3 separate regions of the Homo sapiens genome follow, and all the other regions are linked to region 3. Evidence: promoter capture Hi-C in 16 types of primary human blood cells and fetal thymus (Javierre and others, 2016). All regions are on one chromosome and are shown on one strand. Each heading gives the region's core, a stretch centred on a gene start or on the middle of the fragment in contact. The rest is flanking DNA. Distances are from core to core; before and after follow the strand shown. Region 1 holds the start of RNF216-IT1 (RNF216 intronic transcript 1). Region 2 holds the start of PAPOLB (poly(A) polymerase beta). Region 3 holds the start of WIPI2 (WD repeat domain, phosphoinositide interacting 2).

Region 1 (3,565 bases), core at 105-2,604, 490 kb after region 3:
TGCACACACACCGTAACAAGTGTAACGAGGCTGTTGGTGAGTCTGGGGGAATGCGGTGAAGCCTCTCAGCAGTAGGAGTGCTGACCAGAGTCCCTTGAGGGTCCTCCCTGCCTCACATTTCTGGAAGCCTAAGTGATCACCAGATGTGCAATTATTTGATAAGGCTTAGCTCCAGGCGCTATGACAACAGACACAAAATCAAAACCACTGAAATCGAGAGAATAGCCCTGTCATGGAATCTCCCATGGAATGTGCTACTGCAAGGAACAATTAAACAAAAAAAGAAAGGCAGGCACCACTGAGAGAAGAGCGTATCTGTGTGAGTGCCTGCATTTCTAACAACTGGCCCTGTGGGAATGAGCATCTTTAGACCCTCAGCAGGAGAGACTATCATGCTCCTCCAGGTCCCTCACCCGCCTTTCTGCTAAGCGGCCAGAGTCCCTGGGCAGGTGAGCCAGGCGGCTCCACAGTCGGCTTTAAGAAACACAATAGGGACCCTGTATGCACAGCGAGTCCCTTAGGGTCCTGGGAGTCTCTTGCTGGGATCATTACATCCTCAGTCCTCTGCTACCAGAATAATCATGTGACAAGCTAAATCTGATCATTTCACTACCCTGTTTAATGACCATGGATAGACTTCCTGCTGCAATCAGGAAGAAGTCCACGTTCTTCACACAAGGGACATCTCCCCCACGAGCTGGCCCTGAAGCTTCCAGCCTCCTCAGAGCTCGCCCTGGAAACACACGCTCCCCTCTACTTTAACACTCTGTGTCCTCTTCCGGAAGTCTCTTCATGCTCTAATGCAGCCTTCAAGGTCCAACAGGGAAGTGGTTCCTTTGTCCCCCGCCCTGCCCCCAGCTAGCTCTGTCATCATAGAATGCGATCCACTCCCCCAAGCCCAAGTCTCCTACCCGAGTCCTCCACGTGGTGGGCTTGTCAGCTCACTGGTTACTCAACACTTCTTTTTTTGTTGTTGTTGAGACGGAGTCTTGCCCTGTCGCCAGCCTGGAGAGCAGTGGTGCGATCTCGGCTCACTGCAATCTCTACCTCCCGGGTTCAAGCGATTCCCCTGCTTCAGCCTCCTGAGTAGCTGGGACTACAGGCGCGCACCACCATGCTCAGCTAATTTTTTTTGTATTTTACTAGAGACGGGGTTTCACCATGTTGGCCAGGATGGTCTCGATCTCCTGACCTTGTGATCTGCCCGACTCGGCCTCCCAAAGTGCTGGGATTACAGGTGTGAGCCACCGCGCCCAGCACTCAACACTTCTACTTGGATATCTAAAAGGCACCCCAGACAAAAGATGTCTGAAGCACCACTTCTGGCCCCTGGGCTCCCCTGTATCCCTGAAGGACACAGCCACCCACTGGCTGCTCATGCAACAAAACCCAATTCCTCCTTTCTCTTTACCCCCACTCATTCCAGCTTGTCCTTTCTGTTCCGCCTCCAAAATGCACCTCACATCTAACCCACTCCTATCTGGGTCCAAAACCCAGCCTAGATCCCCTCTGGCTGGGCCATGGCGGAGAGCCTGGACTTCAGGCCATCCCACCCCTCACTCCCTCTCATGCTGCTGCCTCCAGCCATACCCCGCAGATACCCCAGACCCTTCCCACACTGGGGTCTCAGCTCCTGTGTTCTTACCTCAACAGCTTGTCCCTGGCTCTTTGAACGCCTAGCCTCTTGCTTATAATTTGGACAAGTCCTGAATCGTTTGTGGTTCTTCAGAGACACTGAAGAGCCACCTGGGCCTTTAGCAGCACCCTAAATGTTTCTCATACTATGCCTAATGTAGGAACCTCCCTACCTCAGGAAATCCAAGCAATTACCTAGGGCCAGAATCTGAATTATCATCTGGTTTCATCTCCCATCATTTACCTGTTTTAGGAAAAAATACAAACTTTATTCTGAAAGAGAAAAGTCATCCTTGGCCCCAAACACGTCACATTTTATAGCTACACAGAAACAACTGTGGATTACCAAGTCCCCAGCAGCTTCTAAGCTTCTGGGAGGAAATCTGTAGCCCTGACCCAGTGTGCCTCCCTCTCTAGTTTATTCCAAGGGGTGTTCTCAAGCCTCTAGGGCTAGGCAGGACCTGTAGCACCAAGGACAGTGTCTTCCTCCTCCTTGATTAACCCTACCCACTGACCACACTGACAACCTTTCAATGTTGTTCTTGCTTAGGAAGTGTCAAGGACGAGTCCCATTCCTCAACTGGGGATAGTTTTCTGTCTGGTATGTTGGCCCAAGCCTCACTGGTTGCAACTTACCAGACCACACTGCGAAACCACACTGCTCAGCTTCAACACTCCGGCTTACTGACTGGCCATGGCATCTCATCAACAGCCATCCCTCAATCCTGACTACATAAACGGGAAACACCCAGAAAAGGAGGATAGGAGGTGAAAAGGCCAAATTCAAAAGCAAGTTCAACATGAAGACGGGATCTGTGTAGCCCCTAAGGGTGGTAACCCCCAGTGGTTTTCTAAAGAATGCTACAAAGATGACCATCTCCCTGTGCCACAGCAACCTTAGACAATGGGTCACAGCCCACTGGCACTCTGGCTCTGTGTGTGCCACTTCTGTGGCCGGCTGCTGCCTCTTCTCAGGGTGGGGATGATGGAGAAATGCTTGCAGACCTGTCCACTCAGCAGACACAGGCACCTGAGGCCATGCGGGCCCACGCTGCTAGGAAAAACCGTTGGCTTTCTTTCCCCTTTTCTAAATTGCAAAGTTGGCAGATTCTGTACCTACGTGCCAGCCCACACTGACTTTTTCTCAAATCTAGACTCCAAAAATCCCTATCTTGTTCTGAAATCCTTTGGAATCACCTCAGAGGCTACTTGACCAGGTTACCCTCACACCCGTCCCTCTAAAAGGGCAGCCATGGAGCACATGTTACTACTTAGCTTGGAGCAGCCAATCTCTGGCCTAAAGGAGAGATGACAGTTTTACTTTCATTTTTTTTCTTTTTTTTTTTTTTTGAGACAGTCTCACTCTGTTGCCCAGGCTGCAGTGCAGTGGCGCGGTCTTGTCTTACTGCAACCCCTGCTTCCTGGGTTCAAGCGATTCTCCTGCCTCAGCCACCCGAGTAGCTGGGACTACAGGTGCCCACCACCATGCCGGGCTATTTTTGTATTTTTAGTAGAGACAGGGTTTCAACATTTTGGCCAGGCTGATCTTGAACTCCTGACCTCAAATGATCCACCCACCTCAGCCTCCCAAAGGGCTGGGATATCGGCGTGAGCCTCTGCGCTCGGCTGACATTTTTACTTTTAAATAAGTAGCATGTAATAGAGTTAGAATAATCATGTGCAACACTTTTGGAAAGAAATTTGAAACTGTGCTCCAAGAGTCTTAAGCAAATGGATTCTCTTGGAATCAAGAGTCCTACTCTAGGGATCTATTCTAAGGAATAATTCTAAAAAAGAAAAAGCTTTACATATAAAGCTTTGCATTGCGTTAATGTAGCATCAAAACCAGAAAAAAATTCTACATTTCCAACTCAGGAGCAAGCATAGGTAAACCAACATAAATCTGTGTGATGGAATGACAACCTCCCAT
Region 2 (3,572 bases), core at 589-3,088, 330 kb before region 3:
AGTGCTAATCTTGCAAATAAAATATCAATCTCTATCCCATCAAAACACAGTTTGATAACTGGCACAAATGCCTCCTCGACAGCCCTTAAATCTTTCACTTCCTCCTGTAGTTTCAGTTTAGCATAGAATGAGGTGAAAAAGTCGCTTCGATCCACATGACTTGGTGCAACGCACAAGGCGTCAATATCTGCGCCTTTCGTATGTACTCCTAATCTGTAAGAGCCAAACGTAAAAATCTTTCCTCCAACGTTTTCAATTACAGACTGGGGAAGACTCTTGCTTTCACTGATTTCGCGTATCCATTCCTTTACCAGATTATTTAATTTTTCCAAAACTAAAATCCTGCGCTGCAGTTCCTCTTCCTCTTCGAAGACCCCGAAGGGCCTGAGGGTTTCTATTAGCCTCTGGGTGAGGAGGCAGTCCGTCTCCTTGGGGACCGCTAGACTGATAGGCGAGGAGACGCCGTAGCGATTCGGCGGCGGCGCCGGCTGCGGTGGTCCCTGGGTTGTCACCGGAAACGGCATCATCTTTCAGCGCCCGCCCCGCCAGGGCACGTCCCCCACCACCGCGACCTTCGCGGCCGCCGCCCGGGTCATGATCCGCTGAGGCGGAAGGGCAGGGCTTCTAGCTGCCCTGGTCCGACCCCACTCCCACTCCCGCTGCGCGCCCGCCGCTTCAGGAGCTTCTCCTCCTTCCCCTCAGCCCCAACATGGCGCCAGACCCCTCAGCGGCTGCGTTCCAGAACCTACCGTACACGCGCGGGCGCCTGCGCACCCGCCGCCAGCGCGAGGGCTCACGGGAGCCACAGCGTTCTGGGCTGGGGCTCCTACCGCTGCGCGGGGGGCTATACATGGGGGTGGGCAGGATTCACGTTGTTGATGACCGGCCAAACTCAACCCTTTATTGCCACTATTTTACATATTTGCCCAACTTTACCCATCTAATTCTTTGCTCTCCAAGTCCCTTGACATCGCAGATGTGCATCCTTTTTGGGGGCACCCTCAGCACTCTTCACCCTAGCGTGCACCCTTTGGAAGTCCAAAGACCCCTTCGTGGTGGGAACCCGCGGTGGAAAGCAGCTTCTGTCTTGTTTCTTGGGCCGTTGCTGGACATTGGTTTAGCTGGGGCAGCATTTCGAGGTCGACATTTGTGTTCTGGCCATGCTTTAAGGGCGCGATACTGCTGTCCTCTGGTTCCCGTTGAGAATTCCGCAGCTAGGTGAACTACTGCTCGTCTGTCTTTTCTTATGGCAGCTATAAAAGTGTCTGTCCCTAGTGCCCTGTGATCCCACCACTGTGTGTCCAGGCATAGATTTCTCTTTAATAATCTTACCCAGGCTGGGCGCAGTGGCTCACGCCTGTAATCCCAGCACTATGGGAGGCCGAGGCGGGCAGATCACCTGAGGTCAGGAGTTGGAGACCAGCCTCAACATGGAGAAACCCCGTCACTACTAAAAATACAAAATTAGCCGGGCGTGGTGGTGCATGCCTGTAATCCCAGCTACTCGGGAGGCTGAGGCAGGAGAATTGCTTGAACCTGAGAGGCAGAGGTTGCGGTGAGCCAAGATCACACCATTGCACTCCAGCCTGGGCAACAAGAGTGAAACTCTGTCTCAAAAAAAAAAATAAAATTAAAAATAAAAATAAAAAATAAAAAATATAATCTTACCCAGGATACACTATGATTCCCGAATCAGAAGTCATGCTTTTTATGATCTCCAGAAGCTTCTTGGGCACTTCCTGGGAATATGTTCTCCCACTTGTCTCCTGATTCTCTTCATCTAGACACGTTGTCAACCTTCTCACTCTGTCCTCCATGTCTCTTAAGCCGTGTGTCTTTCTGGGTGATGCCAGATTACCTCCAAGTCCTCTCTTCAGTTGTATTTAGTCTGCTGTTTAAGCATCATTGAAATATCCACTTAAATACTTATATTTCACTATTTTGTTCTTTTCCAAGCTTCTCTGCCTTTTAGATGGCATTCTGTTCTTTCATGTTTTTCCCCCTACCTTTTATTTCTTTAAACGTGTTAAACATACTTATTTAGTACTCTATAACTAATTATTCTAATTCCGAATGCTCTTGAGAAACTGTATAGTTTGTTGTTATCCAAGAACTCAGAGTGGTATTACCTCTTGGGTCTTGTAATTTTGGATTGTGAGCTCATTTCTGGTGAAGCTTGGAATGCCTGTGTAGACGCTGTGTCCTTCCAAAGAGGATTTGCTTTGTTTCCAGTAGATGTTCTTGTACACTATAGAATTGCAGTCAGTGTAATTTCTTATCCAGGGATTATCCACAACATCTAGATGGTGCAACTTTGAACCCCAAATACATGTAAGAGGACATGTGGTTTTCATTTTTAAGGAACAGTCTTTAGTTTTTCCCACCCAAGTCAAGAGAGAGAACTTCCTTTGCCATCTCCTTTCACCAGGTAGCAGATTCTTCTTACTCCATTTTTTCACTCAATGTGTCACCCTTTGAGGATTCCAATTGTATTTGGAGGGGTCTCAATTCTAACTCCCTACCTTTTAAGGTCCCAAGAGCTTTCTGTCTCTTCTTGGACAGCTGCTAAACTTAAGTTTCTCAGTTTCCAAGACTGGCCAATGCCTCTAGGGCGGTTCTAGTTTCAGAATCAGCTACAATCCTGAGGTTTCAAGGTATCCCTTTTTCTTCCAGCCCTAGAGACTTCCTTTATTTTCCTGGGTACTCAGCTATGCATTCAAAAAAATGATTTCTTATATTTATCCAACATTTCCAGGCACTTTACATAGAAAGATTTTCTGGGATAATTAATCCCATATATTGCCAGAAATATAAATACCTTCTTTTTAATCCATTTCAACATTGGCTTACATGCTCAAAAACAGCTATCAGCAAGGTCTTTGGTGACCTCCATGTTGCCCAACCCATGACCCCAATGATTTCCATCTTCTTTGACCTATGGTAGCTTCATCTTGGCCTCTGCGACACCATACTCTTTGTCTTCCACATGTCTGGCCAGTCCTCAGTCAAATTTGCTGATTCCTCCTCCTTTACTTGACCTCTAAATGTTGGGAGTTCCTCCAGTTTCCATTCTAAGCCCTCATTTCTCCTCACTGCATGTACATTCACTGCCTGGTTAATCTGCTGATTTCCACAGCTTTAAATACCACTTACTTACAGATTAATTCATATTTTAATCAGACTCTCTTCTGAACTCCAGATCCATATTATCTGACTGCCTGTGGTTGCCACCTATATTTGGATGCCTTTAACTTAACATAGTTTAAAGAGAACTCTAACTCATCCTCCCACAGTTTGCTTCTCTCTCAGTAGTCTCCATTTTAGGAAATGACATCTCTTTCTACCCAACTCTTGATACAAGAAACCTGGGAGTCATTCTGGACACCTCCCTGTTTTGCATCCTCAACATCCAATTCATTTACAAGTTCTGTTGATTTCACCTCCAGAATATACTTAAAATCCCTCTACTGCTTTCTACCTGTTCCCTTATAACTCTAGTCCAAGCCACCATCAACTCTCATTTCAACTTCTACAACAACTAAATTAATCTCCTATTACTGACCTTTTCAAAG
Region 3 (3,471 bases), core at 289-2,788:
GGTTACAGGCGTGAGTCACCATGCCCAGCCTATTTTATTTTACTTTTTAGATGGAGTCTCACTCTGTCGTCCGTCCAGGCTGGAGTGCAGAGGTGCAATCTCGGCTCACTGCAACCTCCACCTGTGGGGCTCAAGCAATTCTCCCACCTCAGCCTCCCTAGTAGCTGAGATTACAGGTGCCCACCACCATACCCAGCTAACTTTTGTACTTTTAGTAGAGACGGGGTTTCACCATGTTAGCCAGGCTGGTCTGGAACTCCCGACCTCAGGTGATCCACCCGCCTCAGCCTCCCAAAGTGCTGGGATTACAGGTAAGAGCCACCACACCTGGCCTTCTATTTATATTTAAATATCTCCCCATTATAACTTCTCTGAGGGAAAGGAGGAGGCCTATTTAGTTCACATGAGAGGTGCGTCCTAAATACTGTTGAATGAATGAATAAATTTAAGGGACGATTCTGTCCCAGGAACCCAGACAGTATGGACCTTGGAGAAACAGGACGTTTCCAGTCTCAGATCTAGCACTTGGCTAATAATTATTTCTGAGCCTCGATTTTCAAATCTGTAAAATTAAGATATACTATTCTCTACTTAGGATTGTAATGGGCATCAAATAAGATAATGTGGCTGGGCACAGTGGCTCACATCTGTAATCCCAGTACTTTGGGAGGCCGAGGTGGGAGCATCACTTGAGGCCAGGAGTGCGAGACCAGCCTAGGCAACAGAGTAAGACCCCCCCCGCCCCCACCCCATCTCTACAAAAAACTTAAAAGTTAGCAGGGTGTGGTGGCATGCATTTGTGGTCCCAGCTACTTGGGAGGCTAAGGTGGGAGGATCGCTTGAGCCTGAGTTTGAGGCTGCAGTGAGCTGTGATTGAGCCTCTGCACTCCAGCCTAGGCAACAGAGCGAGACCTTGTCTTTCAAAATAATAAAATGATAAGGTAATGCGCAGAAGCATTCAGCACAGTGATTGGCACATGGAGGGCCCATTGGGGTGTTTTTGTTTTTGTTTTTGTTGTTGTTTGAGACAGAGTCTCGCTCTATGGCCCAGGCTGGATGGATTGCAGTGGCATGATCTCGGCTCACTGCAATCTCCGCCTCCTGGGTTCAAGCGATTATCTTGCCTCAGCCTCCCGAGTAGCTGGGATTACAGGCGTACACCACCAAGCCCGGCTAATTTTTCTTGTATTTTTAGTAGAGACGGGGTTTCACCATGTTGGCCAGGCTGGTCTCGAACTTCTGATCTTAGGTGATCCGCCCGCCTTGGCCTCCCAAAATGCTGGGATTACAGGCCACCGTGCCTGGCCATTGAGTGTTATTAAGAGGAGGGTACGCAGAAAACAGACTCCCGCCAGCTCTGCCCCATGCGCATGAGCGGCCGCCGCTCGCCCTCAGCCAGGCCCAGCGCGCCCCGACGCGTCCCCACGCCTGCGTGATCCACCGGAACCCAAGCCCAGGCAGGCGGTGAGAGGGCGGGGCCTCCGCAGTGCGACTGCGCCGCTCGAGGCCGTGCGTCGCGGGGGCGGGGCCGCGCAGGCGTACCGGGTGCCCCGGCTCTGGAGCATAAACAAGAGCGGGGACGGGATGAGGCGGCGGTTGATCCCAGGGTGGCGAGTGGCGGCGACCGAGGCGGCGAGCGGGGCCCGGCGCCGACCCTGAGTGCAGCCTGACCCGCCCTCGCGCGCGCGCCCTCCCCGGCCGGGCCCACTCGCCGCGCGCCCAGCCATGAACCTGGCGAGCCAGAGCGGGGAGGCCGGCGCCGGCCAGCTGCTCTTCGCCAACTTCAACCAGGACAACACGTAAGGCCGGGGTCGGGGGTCGGAGTCGGGGTGAGGCCAGGGTCGGACCCGGGCTAGGGGGAGGGCCTCGCTGCCAAGCTCGGCGGCGTCGCAGGCTCGGCCTCCCCGCGGGCCAAGGCGCGCAGAGGCGTCCCCAGGGGCGGGCCCGGGGCGTGCAGGGAGGGGCGCCCTCCAGGGAGACCCTCGGGTGCTGGCCTGGAGCTGCGGTCCCGGAGCGGGAGAGGTGGTGGAGAGGGGGCTGCTTTCACCCTCTTGCGGGGAGGCCCCCTGGCTTCAGACTTAACTACTTCTCGCAAAGTTGGGGCCGAACTTTGGGGCTTGACTTGTCTTGGCCGCCTGTGGAGCGCTGGGTGTGGGTCGCTTCCTCTCCTCTCGTCTCCTCTTCCCGCTGCTTGCTCAGCGTCTCCCACTCACTCTCCTTTGAATCAGGCCCTTCTCCTTGTCTTTTCATCGTCTTAAGACCCTTCTCTCTCTCTTGATTTTCTTTTCTTCGTTTCTCACTGTTTTTTTGTTTGTTTTTGTTTTTTGGGGTTTGTTTTGTTTTGAGACAGAGTCTTGCTCTGTTGCCCAGGCTGGAGTGCAGTGGTGCCATCTCAGCTCACTGCAACCTCCGCCTCCTGGGTTCAAGCGATTCTCCTGCCTCAGCCTCCCGAGTAGCTGAGACTACAGGCACGCGCCACTGTGCCCAGCTAACTTTTTTGTATTTGTAGTAGAGACAGGGTTTCACCATGTTGGTCAGGCTGGTCTCAAATTCCTGACCTCAAGTGATCCGCCCACCTCAGCCTCCCAAAGTGCTGGGATTACAGGTGTGAGCCACCGTGCGCGGCCCTCCCTGTTCTTTTTGGGACATCAACTTTGATGTCTTCTCCAGCAAGTAACAAACTTAGCAATAACCTTGGCATCTGACCTAGCTAGGGAGAAACTGAGCCAAGAGAGGCGTTACGGACCAGTGCCCCAGGAGTCTCAGAGCTCCAGCGGGTGGGTCATCCTCAGGGCAAGAGAAGGCCTTAATGCCAGCCCGTGCATTCGGAACGCTGTTTGTCCCCACTGATACGGGTTGGATGCTGCCTGGGAGGAGGACTTGTGGGGATGGTTAATAGATGAGCGAGCTTTCTGGAGAGAGAAGGGTGAGTTATGGGGTTGGCAGGGAGGAGAGCCATCTTGGAAGTGAGTAAGAGGAAGTGAGGAAAGAGAAGGAGTGGGGCATTTGGCATCTTACTAAGTCATTGGTTGAGTTGTTACTGGCTGAGTGGAATTAACATAGCAGAAGGTAAGATTCTTTAGGAAATTAAAAGTGAATTGTAGAATGGACAACACTCAGTGGGTGGTGTACAGCAGGCACTCAATAGCACCTCCCCAAAGCTGTGAAGACAGTCGCACAGTGGGACTGTATTGAGAGTCGGAAGGGGCAAATCACCTCATCCAACTACAGATGAGGAAATCCTTCCGAAAGGCTCCAAGCTGGTCTGGGTTTTGGAATTGGTTAATAGTGGAGCGGGGGCAGGAGTGGAATCTCGCCTCCTGAGCTCTCTTCCAATGTTCTTTCTGCTCTGCCATGCTGTTTTTTTTTCTGTTTACAGAGTAGAATTCTGAAGACAGTGAATTTAGAAATAATAGCATAACAACGTGTAAAGATGAAAACTCCCAAGTACTGTAGCGTTCTGTGTGACCA

The links. The method cuts DNA at HindIII sites, captures the fragments that hold promoters and counts their contacts. A CHiCAGO score of 5 or more calls a contact.
Region 1: a contact is called between a fragment that was not itself captured here and the fragment with the promoter of WIPI2 in region 3, in 1 of 17 cell types (erythroblasts). The highest score is 5.3, in erythroblasts.
Region 2: a contact is called between a fragment that was not itself captured here and the fragment with the promoter of WIPI2 in region 3, in 1 of 17 cell types (M2 macrophages). The highest score is 5.7, in M2 macrophages.

Annotation. Positions count from the first base shown.
Region 1 is chr7:5,679,443-5,683,007 of GRCh38, forward strand. All of the region lies in intron 13 of RNF216 (ring finger protein 216), which reads right to left. It overlaps RNF216-IT1 (RNF216 intronic transcript 1), which reads right to left and starts at 1,019. Exons shown (of 3, transcript NR_046834.1): 1 at 912-1,019. RefSeq lists enhancers at 821-920, 1,021-1,080, 3,034-3,083, 3,214-3,263. The HindIII fragment of the contact is 1,294 bases long and covers 708-2,001 here.
Region 2 is chr7:4,861,284-4,864,855 of GRCh38, forward strand. All of the region lies in intron 2 of RADIL (Rap associating with DIL domain), which reads right to left. PAPOLB (poly(A) polymerase beta) reads right to left here and starts at 747. Exons shown (of 1, transcript NM_020144.5): 1 at 1-747. The coding sequence starts at 527. RefSeq lists an enhancer at 1-602. The HindIII fragment of the contact is 232 bases long and covers 1,723-1,954 here.
Region 3 is chr7:5,188,695-5,192,165 of GRCh38, forward strand. It overlaps WIPI2 (WD repeat domain, phosphoinositide interacting 2), which reads left to right and starts at 1,539. Exons shown (of 13, transcript NM_015610.4): 1 at 1,539-1,799. The coding sequence starts at 1,726. RefSeq lists silencers at 1,324-1,973, 1,984-2,033. The HindIII fragment of the contact is 15,802 bases long and covers 1-3,471 here.